Regions from separate parts of the Homo sapiens genome. Here region 1 is linked to region 2. Evidence: promoter capture Hi-C in human tissues and cell types (Jung and others, 2019). All regions are on one chromosome and are shown on one strand. Each heading gives the region's core, a stretch centred on a gene start or on the middle of the fragment in contact. The rest is flanking DNA. Distances are from core to core; before and after follow the strand shown.

Region 1 (2,731 bases), core at 109-2,608, 35 kb after region 2:
AGATGTGATCTTGCTCTGTCACCCGTGTCACAATCATGACTCGCTGCAGCCTCAACCTCCCAGGCTCAAGCAATCATTCCACCTCAGCCTCCCCAGTAACTGGAACTACAGCCACCATGCCTGGCTAATTTTTTAATAGTTTATGTACAGATAGGGTCTTGCTATGTTGACCAGGCTGGTTCTGAACTCCGGGACTCAAGCAGTCCTCCTGCCTCAGCCTCCCAAAGTGCTAGGATTACAGGCGTGAGCCCATGCCTGGCTGTTCGGTTGTCATAATAACACTAATAGGCCAATAATGTCATTTTTTATGAGGAAACTGAGGCACAGTGGGCTGGAGTTACTAGCTCAATATCATACAGTTACTAAGTGGTAGAGCTAGGATTTGAATACAGGGAGTCTACCTCCAGAACACCTGCTTTTCACGGTGACACTACACTGTCCTTAACCTTGTAGTGTACAGTAAATAAAATCCTATAAGTGACCCAGAAGTAGTCGTGGAAACTAGGAGAATGCCTATTTTCCACTACCCTCGTTTATAGTGAATGGGAGAGTAAGTAGCTTCTTGTCTAGGAGGATTCAGGAACCATTTCATTTAAGGCAAGAGGGTAGAGAGGGAGTTTTAGAAAAGGTTGAAAAGCACAGGGGAAATGTTTAAAATGGAGTGTGGGCTCCAGGAGAATGGTTATCTGTGAAGTGGTGGGGAGAGAGCAAGAAGCAAGGAGTGAGAAGCTAGATGACCCGAGAGGCTTGCAGTTATGCCAGTGGCTAAGGGCAGCAGAGATTGAAGACTTGTAGAGGTTAATGGGTCCGAATGTTTCAGGCAGCTGTAGGTTAGAGCCCTAGGTGGTGGCAGAGGCCTGATGGTACAAGGAGACTGGGCTTTTCCTATCTTCCTGAAATACATTTCATCATTCTATTATTGTTACCAGAGTTTAGAAAACCAGATGCTGTTCTTATGTCCCACCCAAGTAGCAGTTGACAGTACTTCTTTAATCTTTTGTTTTGTAGTTGTCTTGGTTCTAAATCTTATCTTTCAGCTGATCCAAGCTCATTTAAATTTAGAATGGTCATTGGATGACAGATATGCTAATTAAAAGGAATTCTGGTCTTCCTTCCTACAGCAGCTCATAGTTTACACCTTTAAACACAGAATCTTTATCAACTTTATTTTGGCCTTTGTTCTTTTGTTCTCTGTGTTTCTAGCTCACAGATATGTGCTGATTGTTCTAATTTAAGTGTATGGCTCTCCTCTTACTTGGGAATTGAGAACAAAGGGGCTACAGAATCTCTAGGCTTTCTTGAGCGGTTGGACTAAATGTTACCTAAAAACAATTCTTGCATATCATTTAAAACCCTTGTACCCACAGGCATTATGGCATAGTGGGAATTGTTTGGAATTATTTAGTTGTGTTTGAATCTCTAGTCTCTACTTATTACTGACCTACTTTTTTTGCCTTTCTTATCTTATCTGTAAAAAGTTAACTTTTTAATACTGTACAGTAGTATTTGTAGCTTCTCTGTAGAAAGTATAAAGTAGTACTTGTCTCTTAGAGTTGGTATTAGGATTAGAGGGAACATAGGAAAGTATCTAGTGTAATGTCTGGTACCTGGTAGCAGCCATTATAATCTAGTCCTCTGTGGTTGCTGTCTGAATTTTGTCTTAGATATTTCTGTTATAGCCTCTGAAATTTTTCTCTTCACGTTGGAGTCCTGAAATATTGCTATTTCATGCTGTCCCTTGTTTTATGTTTGAGTACATCAATTTTCAACCCAGGATATTAAAATCAATTAACATATATTCTGTGTTTCATCTGTTCGTCTTTCCCATTGATTCAATACAAGAGGGTGGTGGGCAGTCTGTATTTAACTGTTTTTCATGTGTTGGATACAGAGACATTGCTACCATACAGCTAACATGGTAGAACTACATATGGCCTCTGGACTACTTGACAGGAAGTGATTGAACACTGTGATGTATTTGCTGCTCCTGGATATGGCAGCAGATTTTTCCTACTTGCCTTGGTATCTTTTGTAGCTCTTGCTGTTTTACCTGTCCTAATTTACTCATGAGCAGAAACTCATACTTGTTAGCTTCAGTGGTATAATTTTTTACCCCTTTTTTTTTCTGCCATGTTCTTTCACTCATCACCCTTCTGATTTTGATTCCCTTTCTGCTCTGTAATTTTTTTCTTCTTCCCTTTTTAGGGCCTAGTCTGTTTAGAAATTCTGGTTTTTGAGAGTAGTGAGCCCTTTTACTTTTTTCTGACTGCCTAATTTTCACTGATAGTGAATATGAACCACCAGGATGATAAAGTATACATAACTCACACCCATTCAGTCACTAGGACAATCATGTTTGAAATTAAGATACTTGGAGAGCATATGTATGTATGTAGCTATTAGGGATTTTGTCTCTGTAGTATAATATGTGTACAAGTGGTAAAAATAAAAGAAATATATTCTGAAACATACCAGTCTTTATAATGAAGTTGTTATTCTCTATCTTTACAGGGATTTGTGGAACTGACTATATTTCCCACAGTTGCAAACTTGAATAGAATCAAGTTGAACAGCAAACAGTGTAGAATATACCGAGTAAGGATCAATGATTTAGAGGCTGCTTTTATTTATAATGACCCAACCTTGGAAGTTTGTCACAGTGAATCAAAACAGTAAGTTATGCACTTTAAAAGTCACTATTTTTAACAGTTTTGAAAAAATGTTTTTAATG
Region 2 (2,700 bases), core at 169-2,668:
TAAGGAAGTTGTACTCAGAGAAATTAGGTAAATTGCCTTAGGTCACAAAGTTCTGAAGAGAGTTGGGATTCGCAGCCATGCCTGTCTGATGTAAATGTCAGGGTTCTAGTTGACACTGCTTCTAGTTGTAGGGAATGTTTCCCATTTAATAGAGCAACTACAATGGTTGATTCCCTTCAATAATAACTTCTTATCAGGCAACCACTGTCACATTCAGGATTTCATTCCACCGAATTCCTATGCATTCAAATGTAAAAGAGGCTAGTGAAGAAGTAGGTCACATGAACCAATCTTTCCACCACCAACGAAAGCACTGCCCAGACTCCTGGGATGCCCTACTCTGGTATTTTCGTATCATTTTACCCAAGAATTGAAAAAAATGTCTGCTCAGATCCTTTGAATTCAACACCTTACCCACCACTTTCTTTCACTTCAAGCAAGGTCTGATTTGCACTAACTAGTAGGAGGTCACCATCTCTTAAGTGATTCCTCCCAGACTATTTTAGCTCTCAGGGACAGCCAGGGCCCTCAACGATTCCCTAAGCATCTCTGGGAAAGTTTACACATTACGCTGTTACAAGCAATTCATGTATGTGTGCATAGTGAAAACCTTTTCTCTTAAAACTCTTAATACTGAAGTTCCCCAAACCTTTGGAAAATGTACAAGTCACAGATGCTCCTGTGACTTGTTTTTCCCTTCGGGTGCGTCCTCAACCTTGCTTAAATAAACCTCTATTGAACGAGACCTGCATCAGTCACTTTTCGGTTAACACTAGGTATTCAACGAATAGACTAGTCCCGCCGTTGTCTCCAGATATGATGGTGCCCTGACCCAAAGAAGCGAGATACTCCTTCCCAGGGCCTCGCTCCCGAGCATGGGTTATTTGCACAAAACCCCGCAGGAAGCTTTTAGAGCCACAGTCGGCTAGGCTGGAGTCAGACTCTGTTACCTCCTGACTCTGCCATCACGAGCAAGGAGCCTGCTTCCTCATTGGCAAAAGGGAATGACCAAGGCACCACCTTACAGGGTTGTGGCAACGGGCTCATGGAATTATACATGCCAAGTGGTTATCACAGGGCCCGCCACTGGCGGAAGGTGAGACAATGTGGACGGCGAGGAAATGGGAGCATCGGCTGGAAACCAGGGACGGAGATCGGGGATGGGGGGCGGGCAAGGGGACAGCGGAAAGGGTGGGCGAGGGATCCGTGTCCCAACCCGCCGAGTCGCAGCTCTGCCCCTGCGAGCTTCCGCCGAGACCGCCCCCCGGGAAGCCGCGTTTCCTTCCTGCAGTCGCGGTCCGGCGTGGGGCACGGAGGGGCTCGCGCTCCCAGAAGCCGGCAGGCCTTCCCGCGGGCGGGCCCGCAGCGCGCTCCGCCCCGGAAACACGCCCATGGCCGCCTTGGCGCGCTTTCAAACGCTCAGGTTTCCTACCTTCCGGCTGCTTGGGAACTTCTTTCTTGCCCGCCAAGCCCGCAGCCACCCGGGCGCGGCGGGACTCCTAGACCCGGCGCTGCGATGAAGAGGACCCGCGACGAGGTGGATGCGACGCTGCAGATCGCCAAGCTGAATGCGGCCGAGCTGCTGCCGGCGGTGCACTGCCTGGGCTTCGGCCCTGGGGCCAGCGGCGCTGCAGCCGGCGACTTCTGCCTGCTGGAGCTGGAGCCCACGCTGTGCCAGCAGCTGGAGGATGGACACAGGTGAGCCCTGGTCACGCGGCGCCCCCAGCCTCTGGCCGGCCACGTTATTTTCTCAGCGGGGAAAGTCGGGATAAGAAAACAGGGCCAGAGAGATGCACTGACCTGGCCGGGGGCTCATAGCAAGCTGCCTGTTCCCGAGGAGTCCACGCCTCCGGTGGGCCGTCCAGTTAGCTGCACTGCGGTGATGAGTAGCACTGGTCCAGCTGACCTTGGAGGCATGTGTCAGCGGGAGCAAGTCAGGAAATACTAATACAACCTCCGTGAAGTTTTTGAAGAGTTACCGGTGATTACAGGGACTCTACAGGACACCTGTCACTCTACCTTAAAATACAGTGGTGATACCCAATGTTTATAGAACTCTTGCCTTCCACTTATATTTATTTTACTCAGATGATAGATAGGAAGTGCTGGGAATCAGCTTACAGACTTGGTAATTGGGTGAGACCCCTACCCACCCCGAAGCAAACTTGCTTAGTAGGGATCTGAAGCTGTTTCTAATTCCAGGTCAGATACAAACTTGCTGCAAGATCATTGATTAGAAGTCGAAGTTGAGGTAGTTTTTTAAAGGCAGTCTTGAGAAGTCTAGAGAATCGTTATATCCCTCCACCCTGTGCAGCCCCAGCTCCTGCAAAATAGGGAGCTCCAGCTTGATTCTCTTTTGCACAATTGGTCCTCCGACACCTATATTTTATTAGGCTATTTTTTCTCTTTTTTCTTAATGGAATCCTTTAGGCTGTCTTTCAGTTTTCGTACTTTGCCCACCAAAGAGTGTTAGAGTAAACTGGCCATTCTTCAGATACCTGCTATATACCTCAAAGTACCTTTAAGGGAACTGAAAGAACTTCACTAGTCTGTTTCCATCCCGGTTCAGTTGGTGGAGAGTTGAGAAAGGAACTCAGGTGTGAGGACTTTCTCTCGGTCCAGTTCTAGTTAATCTAGCTGGCAAAAACAAAACAAAACAAAAACAAAAAAATAAAAACAGGCCCTGGAAACGTGTGTTTT

Evidence for each region. Contacts are between HindIII fragments. The study calls those that stand out against the background at their distance.
Region 1: a fragment that was not itself captured here is called in contact with the fragment with the promoter of DSCC1 in region 2 in 1 of the 25 tissues and cell types used here (liver).

The regions. Positions count from the first base shown.
Region 1 is chr8:119,819,287-119,822,017 of GRCh38, reverse strand. TAF2 (TATA-box binding protein associated factor 2) reads left to right here. Exons shown (of 26, transcript NM_003184.4): 3 at 2,512-2,672. Among named protein-coding and RNA genes, the nearest start is that of TAF2, 12 kb to the left of the region's middle. The HindIII fragment of the contact is 5,556 bases long and covers 1-2,731 here.
Region 2 is chr8:119,854,612-119,857,311 of GRCh38, reverse strand. DSCC1 (DNA replication and sister chromatid cohesion 1) reads left to right here and starts at 1,418. Exons shown (of 9, transcript NM_024094.3): 1 at 1,418-1,698. The coding sequence starts at 1,517. LOC105375728 (a long non-coding RNA gene) reads right to left here. Exons shown (of 4, transcript XR_928590.3): 2 at 2,510-2,637; 3 at 1,433-1,906. RefSeq lists a silencer at 1,267-1,326 and an enhancer at 1,437-1,746. The HindIII fragment of the contact is 8,457 bases long and covers 1-2,700 here.